Regions from separate parts of the Homo sapiens genome. Here regions 2, 3 and 4 are each linked to region 1. Evidence: promoter capture Hi-C in 16 types of primary human blood cells and fetal thymus (Javierre and others, 2016). All regions are on one chromosome and are shown on one strand. The core of a region is centred on a gene start or on the middle of the fragment in contact, and the rest is flanking DNA. Distances in the headings are between cores, read along the strand shown. Region 1 holds the start of SHOC1 (shortage in chiasmata 1). Region 2 overlaps SUSD1 (sushi domain containing 1). Region 3 overlaps SUSD1 (sushi domain containing 1). Region 4 overlaps SUSD1 (sushi domain containing 1).

Evidence for each region. The method cuts DNA at HindIII sites, captures the fragments that hold promoters and counts their contacts. A CHiCAGO score of 5 or more calls a contact.
Region 2: a fragment that was not itself captured here is called in contact with the fragment with the promoter of SHOC1 in region 1 in 1 of 17 cell types (activated CD4 T cells); the score reaches 7.4 in activated CD4 T cells.
Region 3: a fragment that was not itself captured here is called in contact with the fragment with the promoter of SHOC1 in region 1 in 10 of 17 cell types (activated CD4 T cells, endothelial precursors, total CD8 T cells and 7 more); the score reaches 11.7 in activated CD4 T cells.
Region 4: a contact is called between a fragment that was not itself captured here and the fragment with the promoter of SHOC1 in region 1, in 1 of 17 cell types (activated CD4 T cells). The highest score is 5.0, in activated CD4 T cells.

Annotation. Positions count from the first base shown.
Region 1 is chr9:111,793,292-111,796,800 of GRCh38, reverse strand. It overlaps SHOC1 (shortage in chiasmata 1), which reads left to right and starts at 1,864. Exons shown (of 28, transcript NM_001378211.1): 1 at 1,864-1,901. LOC124902249 (a long non-coding RNA gene) reads right to left here and starts at 583. Exons shown (of 2, transcript XR_007061734.1): 1 at 429-583. The HindIII fragment of the contact is 10,914 bases long and covers 1-2,991 here.
Region 2 is chr9:112,093,013-112,096,521 of GRCh38, reverse strand. All of the region lies in intron 10 of SUSD1 (sushi domain containing 1), which reads left to right. Among named protein-coding and RNA genes, the nearest start is that of LINC02977, 54 kb to the right of the region's middle. RefSeq lists an enhancer at 839-1,008. The HindIII fragment of the contact is 1,818 bases long and covers 633-2,450 here.
Region 3 is chr9:112,076,241-112,079,749 of GRCh38, reverse strand. It overlaps SUSD1 (sushi domain containing 1), which reads left to right. Exons shown (of 17, transcript NM_022486.5): 12 at 1,026-1,212. Among named protein-coding and RNA genes, the nearest start is that of LINC02977, 38 kb to the right of the region's middle. RefSeq lists an enhancer at 2,560-2,659. The HindIII fragment of the contact is 5,993 bases long and covers 1-3,509 here.
Region 4 is chr9:112,059,810-112,063,318 of GRCh38, reverse strand. It overlaps SUSD1 (sushi domain containing 1), which reads left to right. Exons shown (of 17, transcript NM_022486.5): 13 at 286-382. Among named protein-coding and RNA genes, the nearest start is that of LINC02977, 21 kb to the right of the region's middle. The HindIII fragment of the contact is 6,397 bases long and covers 1-3,509 here.

The sequences.
Region 1 (3,509 bases), core at 615-3,114:
GTACTGTTGGGTATTCAGGAGAATGATGACCCCTTTCTGGTATTGTTAATGTAAACTGCTATACATTTTTGGAAGGAAAAATTGGCAATATTTATTAAATTTGAAATGCTCTTACAATTTCAGCCAGCAAGCCAAAACAAATCTATGCCACAGAAAGTATTCAAGAGCATATGTCCAAGAATTCTTACTGCAGCATTATTTGTCATTGTTTCCAAAAAATTGGAAACAATCTGTTAATCCATCAGTAGTGGAATGTTTAGATAAATCATGGCACGTAGTTACTATAAAATATTATGCAGCTATTTTTAAAAGTAATAATTTTTAAATATAATTAGCCAATCAACGTTGTACATGCATATCTGAATAAATTTGTATGAACATACAACAAAGTGTGAAAAGAATCAACCCAGATTGTTAATATTGGTTACCTGGGAGTTGGGGTGGGAATGGCGATTACTTTCTCTGTATACATCTTTGGATGGTTTTCCTGTTTATAGTAAGGATAAGCATGTGTTATTTTTGTTTTTTGGTTTTTTTTGTTGTTGGTTTTTCTGTTTGTTTGTTTCTGATACGGAATCTTGCTCTGTCCCCCAGGCTGGAATGCAGTGGCATGATCTCGGCTCACTACAACCTCCGCCTCCGGGTTCAAGCGATTCTCCTGCCTCAGCCTCCCAAGTAGCTGGGATTACAGGGGCATGCCACCACACCCGGCTGATTTTTTTTTTTTTTTTTTTTTTTGTATTTTTAGTAGAGATGAGGTTTCACCATGTTGACCAGGCTGGTCTCGAACTCCTGACCTCAGGTGATCCACCCACCTCAGCCTCCCAAAATGCTGGGATTACAGCGTGAGCCACCAGGCCCGGCCAATTTTTGTAACTTTTACAAAGATATTTAATTTAAAATTGATTTTAATAAAAGGTAGACATCCAAGAACACAGGATGATTAATGCACTTCAATGTTAGGTGAATATCTTTAAAACTGATTATTGTCAAACATTAAATCCATATAACCGAAGCAAACTGCACACACCTGTACAAAATAAAGGAAGTAACTTAAGAAAATAAAGTGACTTATCCACTGACATTTCACAATTAGTATTTGAACAATCAACTCAAAAGACACCCATGTGTTAGTAAAGTAAATAAATGCATGTTACTTCTTGCAATCTTCTGGGAAGGAGTTTAATGCCAAGCCGTTTCATGGAAAAGACAGGAGTTAAGAAATATGGAGGAAAGAATAATTATTCCTCATCAGGCGAGTCTGGCGATACCTAAATGTGTGTATGTAAGGGAGTGGCTTTAATTAAGGTATAGAATCCACATGTGCCAATTGAAAAGCAGTATCTTCCTGCCCCTCCTCAAAAGTTCTTCTGCTACCAAGCCATGACCCACACCTAGCCAGACCCCTGAGGCACGTTTGCCTCCTCTCTCTTGCCTTCCTCTTTCCCTGAATCTGTCTGATTGCTAAATCCTCCCACCCTTACCTCTGAAAGGCTTCTGCCCTCGCCCTCCGGCTAACCCTGCCGCGTTTTGCCCGGCCTCGCTAACAACATGGGAGCCGCCACTCCCAAAGAAGTCCGGACTGCTTTGCCGGGTCTTCCCAACCCTTCACAACCAGCTCTTTCTAGCCTCACGCCGACTTCTCCACCGTCACACTCCGCCCAGTGTTATGAGGGTTCTGCTCACTCCCGAGGACCTCGGCGCTGCCCAGGCTGCAGCCTCGAATCCCCACAATCCTTACCTCCCTAGGCTGTGCCCACTCGCGGACGGAAGTGCCCGGAGCCCAAGGGGCGGGGCCTGGTCTGGCCAATGGAAGCACAGAGTGCAGGCTCAGTGGTCACGTGTCCAGCGGGCGGGAATTTTACCCCAGGAAGAGATGCAGGAGGCGATTTTTACCTCAGGTAAGAGCCCTGAGAGGCTGGAGGCAGGAGAGAGGGTGATTTTGAGGGCTGAGGGGAGGAAAAGGTCGTATGGGACCAAAGAAGTATGGCAGCTCAGGAATCTCTGGAAAACGCATCTGTGAGGCCCGGCCGATGTGGCTCTGTAGAGACAAAACCCCAGACCCACTGTCCACTTAACCTGAGAATAGAAGGTGTGAAGGTCTCAGAGATGCTGGTGGGATTTCAGCCCATCAACTAGAAGTTGTATGGGCTAAACAATAAGGGAAAATAGGTGCACCTCGCCTTCTCTGCCATGTTACGTTTTTTTGTCTGTTTTAAGACAGGGTCTCGCTCTGTTGCCCAGGCTGGCGTGCAGTGGCACGATCTCGGTTCACTGCAACCTCTGCCTCCCGAGTTCAAGAGATTCTCCTGCCTCAGCCTCCAGAGTAGTTGGGACTACAGGCGTCCTCCACCACGTCTGGCTAATTTTTATATTTTTAATAGAGACGGGGTTTTGCCATGTTGACCCGGCTGGTCTCGAACTCCTGACCTCAAGTGATCCACCCGCCTCGGCCTCCCGAAGTGCTGGGATTACAGGTGTGAGCCACCACTTCCGGCGGATCTTATTATTTTTTTTTTTTTAAGTGGGTTTTTATGCGAGGGAGTGAAGAAGGCAGAAAGCTCCTGATGCCTTAGGCTGGTGGGGAGAGGTGGGAAGCCAGCCCGAAGATTCACACTCACCTGTGAGTGCTTTTAAATAATCTTGGGGCCTGGCATATGGTGGCTCAGGCCTGTAATCCCAGCACTTCGGGAGGCTGAGGCGAGAGGATTGCCTGAGCTCAGGAGTTCGAAATCAGCCTGGCCAACATGGCGAAACCCCGTCTCTATTAAAAATACAAAAATTAGCCGGGCATGGTGGCACCCGCCTGTAATCCCAGCTACTCGGGAGGCTGAGGCAGGAGAATCGCTTGAACCCGGGAGCTGGAGGTTGCAGTGAGCCAAGATCGCACCATTGCACTCCAGCCTGGGGACAGAGGGAGACTCTGTCTCAAAAAATTATTTGATTAATTAATTAAATCATCATCATCATCATCATCATCTTGGGAAAGCTTACTTCCTGGCCTTGTGCCTGACCTCATTATCGTGTGCATTTCCATTTTGGTCCAGTAGTCCAGTAGATGTTTGTTAGGAAGTAGCACAAAAGAAATAAAATCTTTAGAAAAAGGTAAAAAAAAAAAAAATTCGAGAATTGCTGCAATTCAAAACTTGATAATTTTAAATTACCCTCTCTCTAACCATGATTTTGTTCATTTCCTCATATCTTTGGTTTTAGAAATAAGAGCAATGTATCGTTTTTGCTTCCACCCACCACTATTAGATGGATTCGATATCTGTATTACAATGAAATAAACTTGATAAACGGGATTCTAAGCATGTATATAACATATGGCATCTTATTAAGTAGTACATATTTAGCATGAATTTCAGTGGTTGACTTCAATACAAAAGTAATTATTTCTTAAGGTAATTGGTGAGAGTGATAGAAATACTAGGCTTCACAAGAAAAGAAAAGTTAATATAAATGCTGACAATAAGCTGAATGGGTAAAGTCAGTAAAGTTGAGTTTGT
Region 2 (3,509 bases), core at 292-2,791, 300 kb before region 1:
GTAAAATAAACTAAAATGTAAAGGCATGAAGTCCCCAGTTTTTTCTATCCTACATCTTTTCTGCTGAGTCTTGGCCAGAGTGTCCTGCTGAGTGGAGAGTGTGTTCTAGCTGTTGAAACCTAGGAATCTTGTTTTGTAATAGATGCTACTCCTTTGGTGTATAGGAGACTGGCAAATGCTGAGGTTTTGAGGCAGGCACATACTTGGCATATTCTAGGAATGTCATGGAAACCAGTATGGCTGGAGCAGAGAGCTGGGGACAGTGGTGAGAGATGAGGTCTAAACTCTAGCATGAGTATAATAAATGAGAGGCCCATGGTGTCAGGTTCAGAAAGAAGCCTGTTGTTACCTTCTCCTTTGCCTCCCTAAATTACTAGTAGTAAGTATAATGTAGCATGCCATAGTTCAGCCTCTGTAGGTTACCAAGCAGTCTGGAGTCTACCACGTGTCAATTTAAACTTAAATTGGGAAATGTCTTCTCGTCAGGGTAGTTGGATTCATTTTGACACTGTACTCTCCTTGAAAATTTTAGACATTTGCAGTGGTGGCTCTAGGTCTTTCTTGATGCCCGTTCCAAAGATTAAAACCTTTCCATTTTCGTTGCTCCCTTGAGCCCTATTTCTACCCAAGCTTCACCATTGCTGAAGATCTTTATCTGTTTAGTGAAAGAGTCTCCCTTCTTTCTGGGCAGGACACCCCACATTTATCTTAGGAAACTCTTCAAGTGAAATGCATCATCTTGCATGCTTCCTTCCCTGTCTCCATTTCTGACTCTTTTCTCTGAATTTCTCTAAACCCAGAAAGATCCCCCAAATTGTTTTAGTTCTGGACTCCACAGGCTCCTATTATTGAATGTCTGCCTGTGAGTCCTACTTCCTGGTTAGGAGATTTTCCCTTTTGTCTCCCATGGGGAATTACCCTCAGCTGATCTGTGAGCTGCTGTTGGGTTTCCAGAACCTGAACTTTCACTGGTCTGATGAGGTCCAGGAAACCCCCTGGGCTAGTGGCATTTCGCCCAAGCCCTACCTTCTTGGAATTGAATTTCCAAGACTTAAATGGTCGGTGCTTCTTTGATGGAAACTGAAACACTTCTTGCTCCCGCTTCCTTTTCTGTATCAGAGAGATAAGCCTGCAATGTTCAAGGTCCCTCTGAGAACGTTCTTACTTAGCAGGTCCTGCTCAGCTCTAAGCCTTTACCCTTCCATTTAAGTTGTTTCTGTTCCGTCTTTATTGCCAGGTAGGACTCATACCTTTTGCTAGGTCTTAGTACTTTTCCTTCTCTATATTTGCTTTTTGTTTTCAGACTTAGATTTTTGTTCTCCTCACATATTACTTTGGAATCTGCCTCCGAGGTCTCTGTAGAGAAAGAATGATGTCACAGAGCTCTCGACCTGCCATAAACATCCAGTGTTAAAATACCTTCTTCCCACTTTCATTTTCACTAGGAGGCATTTCTTTCTATTCAGTTCGGCCTAAACCCAGGCCTGGGCTTTATCAATTTTCATTCTCCCTGGACCTTGTTTAATACAGCTCTATTTCCCAGGCAGATGTCCTTATAGCCGGTGCAATACCTGTTGCCCCATCTTACAAAAACAATGCCACCTTGAAACTCACTTAGTGATGCTTGAAGAATTCTACACTGATCATTCACTGATGATTCTCTTTTTAAACATGTTCACATTTCTTTAACTATAGAGTATCACAGTTCCAGTTATTAAGGAAGAAACGAAGAGTTCTCATTAATGCCTATTCTCGCTCCCCTATTTAAAACTTTTCCTTGTCATATTTTTCTAACTGGGCCAATATGATTTCAAATTTTCTTCTTAGTGTTATTTCCTTCACTTTGTTTCATTCCTCCTAATCTTATCGTTTCTCCCTAATCTTATCCTGTCTGCAAGACCAAAACCTGTTTTGTAAACTGACTTCATTCTATTTTCAGAGATGGGGAAAATCTCATTTCTAGGAACAGAGTTCTAGGTGTACACTTTTTGCTATTTCTTTTTAGCATTTGAGTTTGTAATAATTCCACTGGACTTTTTTTCTACTTTAGCCCCCAAAGAGTTTCTTATCTAGAATCCCCGGTCTGAGTTTCTGTGAAACAGATCATCCAGGGCCATTTAAAAGCCCTTGGTGTGGGGGTGAACTCAGCCTGTGGAGAAACCGTGGATCCAGTCTTTCTACAGTTCTCTCCTTAGCCCTGGATGAAATTCCAAACAATATAAAGAGAAATGGAATTTTGGCAAGCTAATCTAATGTTGTCTACTAATATCTAGCTCCCCAAAATGCTCTTTAAAACCTCCCACCATTGCTCCCTTTGTGCATCTTAAACTTTAGCAAGTGTAATGATTACCTGGAGAGCTTATGAAAACACTGGTTCCTGGGCCCCATCCCAGAGGTTCTGATTCAGTAGGCCTTTGGGGAGGGGAGCAAATTTTCATTTCTAGCAAGCTTTCAGGCCTTATTGATATTGTCAGTCCACATTTTGAGTCGCATTGCTCTAACCACATAAACCTTAGCTACTTCCGGGCAATGTCAAAGCTCTTGCAGGCGGAGACATAATAAGAAAAGAAAGACTGAAATAAAAAAAAAGTGGTAGCTAAAATAATTCCATCTGCTCCTGCCTAAAAAGCCTATGTCTTAGAGCTTTGTCTGATTTGCAAAGTTTTCCTGGTAATCAGATATCTACCTACCTCATCTGTTCCTGAATTCCAGCTGCAGAGACCAGGAGCTCTCATCTTCCATCATGGTGCCTTGCTCCGCTGTGGCAGCTCTTATCTTTATACTCAAGGCCCCAGTCAGTATATCTGTCTTTTGCAGGGAGATACTGAATCTTACCTCTCCTTTCCATCTGAGATTAACAGGACAAACAGATAGATAAATGACAAATAGAGGATCAACTTTATTGATCTGGGCAAGTTTCCAGGAACTCTCTCCAAAACTGAATTTCAGGTAAAAGCTATATTGAAGGATGAGGTTTAGCTATTGTGGCCAAGTGGAACTTCCTACTTGCTGGAATTCCCCCTGGAAATATGGGCAGTTGGGTCTGTAAGGGACCCTTGCCTGGCTTACCCACCCAGTCTCAGGCCGAAAAGCAGAGGAAAGGGCGGTGACAGACACTGGGTGCTTACCTCTTGGAGACCGGAGATACCCAGAGTGCTCCTTGTACCTGTGCACAGGCGGGTCCCAGAGAGCAAGTCTGCCTTTTGTTTGGGTGGCAACCTGTAATATATGAACTTATTACTTGGAAATGTGACTCAAGGAATGGCAGTCTCCTACCAATTAGATTACATATTTACTGTTCCTTCCTTGAGGATTAACATATAGGGAATAGGGAGAAGCCAAAATTGCCTTTTCCCTTATGGAATTGGAAAGACAGGTAAATAGCAACCTTTAATACACTCAAGCAAGGTCACTGATCTCTGTAATTATCTTGAACAGGAAAGGTCCATTATAGTTCTAGGAGTCTATGTTAGGAAAGCAATTTAAATTACTTTTAGGTTCCTTCAAAT
Region 3 (3,509 bases), core at 751-3,250, 280 kb before region 1:
ATAGCTGTAATCCCAGCTATTCAGGAGGCTGAGGCAGGAGAATAGCTTGAACCCAAGAGGTGGAGGTTTCTGTTAACCAAGATCGCGCCACTGAACCCCAGCCTGGGTGACAGAGCAAAACTTTGTCTCGAAAAAAAAAAAAAAAGGAGGGGGAAGACTGGGATGAACTTCTACTGGAAGAAATTAAGTAAGAACAAAAGGGTGTCTCTTGGCCGAAGTGTCAGGGTGGTTAAGGAAAGGGTAGGGTCACCAGAAGCTGGCAGGAAGAGGAGAAAAACTGTTCTCAGGTTCTAGCAGACCAGCTACGAGTATTCTAATTCAGGTCCTGCTTAGTTTGGATTCCTAATATTCTTTCTAGGAAAATGTTCTTGTCCTTGCTCCTGCAGTTTTGCCAATAGACTTTCTTGTTGTGTATGTGCACTGTATGTGTGAGAATAAGGAGAAAGCTGCCAGTATTGGGACCTTAGCCTTTTGTGTGTTTTTATTTAAAAATATATTTATTATACAAATAATATTTTAAGTACAATATTTATAGTATTGCAACTCTAATATTTGCTTACTGCTGCATTTCACCTTTTGAAGAAACATTAGAGTCCAGAGAGAGAGAGAGAGGAAGAAAGCTCATGAAAACGGGAAGGGGCTGGGCGCGGTGGCTCACGCCTGTGATCTCAGCACTTTGGGATTCGAGGTGGCAGATCACTAGAGCTCAGGAGTTTGAGACCAGCCTGGGCAACATGGCGAAACCCTGTCTCTACAAAAAATACAAAAATTAGCTGGATGTGGTGGCATGCATCTGTGGTCCCAGTTACTTGGGAGGCTGAGGAGGGAGGATCACTTGAGCCTGGGAGGTTGAGGCTGCAGTGAGCCGAGGTCATGCCACTGCACTCCAGCATGGGTGACAGAGTGAGGCCCCCATCTCAAAAAAAAAAAAAAAAAAAGAGAAAGAAAAAGGAAAAGGGGAGGTTTCAAGGCATCTAAAGCCTTTTAGGCCAACCATTCACCCAGTGAGCTTTTTTATGTTTCAGTTCCACATTTGGGGCCAGAGATGGTATCAGAAGGAATTTGCCCAGGAAATGACCTTTAATATCAGTAGCAGCAGCCGAGATCCCGAGGTGTGCTTGGACCTACGTCCGGGTACCAACTACAATGTCAGTCTCCGGGCTCTGTCTTCGGAACTTCCTGTGGTCATCTCCCTGACAACCCAGATAACAGGTAAATCTTGAATAACAGCATTTGGATTAACAAAGTTACCACAGAATTGTTCATAGGTCCTGATAAAGAGGAACACTGTTGCTTTTTATCATTATATAATGAACTTTAACAGGGAGAGGAGGAAGGACATGGAATTGGAGAGGTGCCTTAAGGCGCCTCTGTGACTGTTATGTTTCATTCTTTTTTCTTTTTTTGAGGCAGGGTCTTGCTCTGTCGCCCAGGCTGGAGTGCAGAGGCACGATCATGGCTCACTGCAGCCTTGACCTGGGCTTAAATGATCCTCCTGCCTCAGCCTCTTGAGTAGCTGGGATTATAGTTGTATAGGCCACCATGCCTGGCTAATTTCTGTATTTTTTGTAGAGACGGGGTTTCACTATGTTGCCTAGGCTGGTCTCGAACTCCTGGGCTCAAGCAATCCACCTGCCTCGGCCTCCCAAAGTGCTGGGATTACAGGTGTAAGCCACTGCGCCCAGCCTGTTATGTTTTATTTTTAAAAAGATACCTAATAACCACAGGGGAGGTCTGTGGGGAGGGGGAGGGGGAAGATACCTGAAACAAAATGTCAGCATTGATGAAATGTGGGTAGTGTGTCCATCCATGGTGTTGGTTGTATAGCTTCTGGATATTTAAAGCATTTAAAATACTTTATACTTAAACAAAAAATGCTTGTGGCTCTTTCTTTCTCAGGAATATTTAGTTGGCATCCTGTTGCAAGTACTTTAAGAGTAGATTACTAGCTAGGCACAGTGGCTCAAACCTGTAATCCCAGCACTTTGGGAAGCTGAGGAGGGTTGATCATGTGAGGATCATTTCGAGATCAGCCTGGCTGACGTGGTGAAACCCCACCTCTACTAAGAATACAAAAATTAGCTGGGTGTGGTGTCAGGTGCCTGTAATCCCAGCTACTCGGGAGGCTGAGGCAGGAGAATTGCTTGAACCCAGGAGGTGGAGGTTGTGTTGATCTGAGATCGCACTCCAGCCTAGGCAACAAGAGCAAAACTCCATCTCAAAAAAAAAAAAAAAAAAAAAAAAAAAAAAGTAGATTACTATCAGGGGACAATGATTGTAGTCCTCCGGCTATAGGGCCCCAGTAAATTCACTTTCCACTCATTTTCTCCTCCCTCTTCACATCTGTGACCCCCACTTCACACATGCTCTGAGCAAATACTAAGCATATTAGCTTCTTGATTCTTATTTCACTGAGAAATTAGAAGTAGTCAGGTGAGGACTTCCCACGCTCAGCCCTGCCGTTCCTCCTTGCATCCTGTTCTGCCTCCCTTCCTGTCCCTGCTCGTGTGTAAGGCTGCCATCCCCTCAACTTGTGCCTTAGATCCCATCCCTTCTTCCCTGATCAGCACTTCCCCTCAATACAGAATTATCCCCAGCATTGCCTAGCATGTTGCAACATCCTCCTTGTGAACGAAAAGAAAGAAAAAATGAGCAGACCTTCTTTGAGCCCATATTTGTCTTCAGCTACTTTGCCTTCTCTCTGCCCCTTTCTATAAAAACTCCTTGAAAGAAATGGCTGTTCTGTAGGCTCCACAGCCCTACCTCCTGTTCTCACTTTCACTCATCCCACGTGGGAAACATACGTCTTCATTGCTTTACTGAAAGGCTCTTCGTTTGATCTCCGTCTTGCCAAATCCAATGGCCAGTTTTGTTCTTATCTGATTTCTTCGATAGCGTTGACACTCCCTCCCTCTTGAAACCCCCTCTCCCTTAGTTTTGGTTCCTTCTGCCTTGCTGTCCCCTCTCAGTCTTCTTTGCTAGCTCCATCTACTTTTATGACCCCTCTTCAGCCTCCTTTTCTTCATTATCTACCCTTTCTGCTTAGGTGATCTCAACCAGTCTTATGGCTATAACTATTACCTATATGCAGAGGATTTCCAAAGATCAATTTCTAGTCCCAGCCTCTCCTTTGAGCACCAGACTCCTATATCCACCCAACTTCTACACATGTCCTATTGAACATCTAATACGCAAATCAAACGGAACTTGTGATTTCTCACCTCTGCCCTCGCCCCCAAATCGGTTTCCACCCAGGCTTCTCTGTTTCTATCTGTTACTTTCTGTCTGTTATTGGAATTTCTGTTCACCCAATTGTTCAGACCAAAAACAAGTCCTAATTGGTTCTATCCCATCCCCAAATTTCTAATCTGTCAACAAGCCCTGTTGGCTTGCTGTCTGAAATATATTCTGAATTCCACCACTTCTCCCCACCTGTGCCTTTTCCACAACTACCCTAATCCAAGACAGCCACCTCTTGCTTGGATTCCTGCTGTAGTTTTCAAACTGGT
Region 4 (3,509 bases), core at 694-3,193, 270 kb before region 1:
TATGTTCCCATTCCCTACATGCCCCCTCCACCCCCAGCAACTTCTTCTGTCTCTATGAATTTGCCTATGTTAGATTTTTCATCTAAGTGGAATGATAGAGAATCTGTCCTTTTGTGCCTGGTGTATTTCACTTAGCATGTTCTTCCACATTGTGGCATGTACAGAATAGGCTCCTCGCTTCTGAAATTAAAACTTTCTTTTTGATAGCCCTCACGAGGACCTCTTTTGTCCTGCTGTTTACTTGTTCCAATCATACCCCTTTTCTTCTTTTCAACATGTTTTCAGAGCCTCCCCTCCCGGAAGTAGAATTTTTTACGGTGCACAGAGGACCTCTACCACGCCTCAGACTGAGGAAAGCCAAGGAGAAAAATGGACCAATCAGGTCAGTAGCTGTCCTTTCTCCACGGTTGCCCAGTGATCCCCATGGAGTGTTTTGGAAACTTTGATTTTGGTGAGGAGAAGACTTCTGTGTTGGTGGCTGCACTTGGGTGGTTAGAACAATGCAGTTGGGGCCTCTTTTGTTTCCTTGGGTACAGACTGGCCTTTAATCCCAACCAGCATCCTTTCTAATGGTGAGAGAGACTTCTTTTTTTTAAAATTTAAATTTTATTTTTTATTTTTTTGAGATGGAGTGTCACTCCCATCATACAGGCCGGAGTACAGTGTTGCGATCTCAGCTCACTGCAACCTCCACCTGCTGGGTGCAAGTGATTCTCCTTCCACTGCCTCCTGAGTAGCTGGGATTATAGGTGTGCACCACCACACCTGGCTAATTTTTGTATTTTTAGTTGAGACGAGGTTTTGCCATGTTGGTCAGGCTGGTCTTGAACTCCTGACCTCAGGTGATCCACCAGCCTCAACCTCCCAAAGTGCTAGGATTACAGGCTTGAACCACCACACCCGGCCACATAGAGAGACTTCTAAAGGACCCTATATACAAGCATTTGGGCAGTTTAGCTCAAGAAATTACATCCATTCCTTTGGTCCCTGGGTAAACGTCGGTTGCATGTTAGGACATGTCAGGATTGTCCTTTGCACTCATGTCTCATAGTACATCCTTTATGGATGGTGGGTCAGGGGCATCGTTTCATTTCCCAAAGGCAGAATATGTTGCCCTTTATGTAAGGTTGATCTTGGGGGGTGTGCAGTGGTTTCTGAAAAGATCATTTAGGTAAATCTTTTTGTCTTTTCATGTATTGAGTTACAGGCAAGACACTGTATAATTAATGACTGCTTCTGGGATTCCAGATGGCATTAGGATGGAATTAATTTACCTCAGTTGGAGGACTACAGTGTGTTCAGTTAAGTGTTTTATTTGCAAAGGTCATGGCAGGATTAGGAAAGTAGCATCAGTCCCTTTTTTAGAGAGGAAGATTGAGGTTGGCGTGGAGAGATGAACAGCTTGCTCACAGTACCAGCTCAAGGAGATGAAAATGTACATGGCCTCACCAACATTGCCTTTGTCTCTGCTGACCCTTCGGTAAAATCAAGGTTAAAAAAAAAAAAGTGAGATATTATAAAATTACAAAAAAGAAAGTCTGGCGATATTATCTGTATATCCATTTATAATAAAACTTAGGGTTTTCCTGCTTTTATATTCATTTAAGTTCAGTAAATGTGCAAAGATCTTTCCAGGGATGGACATTGTATAAATTGTTCTGATTCTTGACAAGTTACCAGAAGGCATTGTAATTCTGTCATTATAAAGAGAACAGAAGTTGTGATGTCACTTCCTGAGAGCATTTGCAAGAACAAATGTGATATTTATGTCAAATAATGACATAATGCAAAAGAAAAGCCAAATGACAGCTTACCCTTGTGGCTATATGCCGGCCAGCGCCTCCAAAACAGGAAGTGGAGAACTGTGAGTCATTCGAGGGAGTGTGGTGGTGAAAAAGAGGAGAAAAGTCCTTCCAGAACAGTCATATTCCAAACAGCCACAGCTGCTTCTTTAACATCACATGGCTAATTACCAGCAGGCAGGGTGGTTTTCCTAAGCCTGACTACCTGGTTTGAGCTGGGGGGCAGCAGCTTTGCCAGTGTGTGAGACAGGCCTGAGTCTGCTTTGTGCACCATTTAGGGACAGTGTCTTGGGGTACATAATGGAGCAAGGTCCCTGGGACCAAGTCTCTGCTGAGGTTGCTGATGTTAGGCAGAGGATGGAGCCTGTTGCTGGGTTCCCTTAATGCTCGTGTCTCCCACATTGCCAGATTATAGGAATCACCTGGGAGCTTTACCAGCGATACAGATTCCCAGAATCTACTCCTAGAGATTTCGATTCAGTAGGTCGGTATGAGGTCGGGGAATTTGTATAATAATCAAGCAACACAGGTGATTACGGTCAGGCTAATTGGGGAGCTGATTCATACTCTGTCGATGATGCCTCTAGTGAGCAATGTACGGAACCAAATGGGCACAGGTGAGCCTCGACCTTGCTCTTGACCACCACCACCTGCATGGAAAGATGAGAGGGATTTAAAGATGTACTTATGGACCGCATGGAGGTGCTGCAACATTTACTTTCTTACCTGTGGCTATGATGTAGGGATGTCTTCAAGTCTCCCGGCAAGTTTGTTGTTACAGGTGTTCCCCATAGGCAGTGGATGCTTAATAAATGTTTACTGGTGGTGACAACTTATTGCCCTGTGGGTTTTACTTTATCTCTTTTGTAGAAAGCCCTTGGCTGAAAGTGAGCCAAGACTTTATGAAAATCAGGACCCTGGGCCAGGCACAGTGGCTTACGCCTGTAATCCCAGCCCATTGGGAGGCAGAGGTGGGCACACAGGGCAGTGATACGTGCAACAACTTCCCCCAGCTAAAGAGGTCAGGAGTTCAAGACCAGCCTGGCCAACATGGTGGAACACCATCTCTACTAAAAATACAAAAAAAATTAACCGGGCATAGTGGCGAGTGCCTGTAGTCTTGGCTACTCAGGAGGCTGAAGCAGAAGAATCGCTTGAACCTGGGAGGTAAAGGTTGCAGTGAGCTGAGATCACACCACTGCACTCCAGCCTGGGCAGCAGAGCAAGACTCCCTTCTTAAAAAAGAAAAGAAAAGAAAGAAAATCAGGGCCCTGAGGATACCTAGGATGTTTGGGAACCTGGTGGGGGGAGACTTTCCATATCCAACACCCACTGTGGAGGAGGGCTCCCTCTTCTTAACCTAGTGATTCATGGGCTCTTAGGAAGCAGGAGATAGGGCGTTTGACATGTGAAGCAGGAAGTTCAAATTTACTGGTAAAATAGAATTACATGGCCTAATGAGTTTTGGAAATTACCCTAATTATATTTCACGCTGATGTATGCTTTTCCTCTTTTCCGAAATTTCAACTCAAGAATCATTCATTGCTGGTGGCGGAGGGGCGGGGCAGGGCGGGGGTTGGGGAGCTATCATTTCCAAAGAACTGTGCAAGGATTTGCAAGAATACAAGTCAGTCGTTCAGATCCCTGCTATCAAGCCTGACAGAGACAGCAGATGCTCAACATGGTACTAGAGGCAGGAGCTAAGTA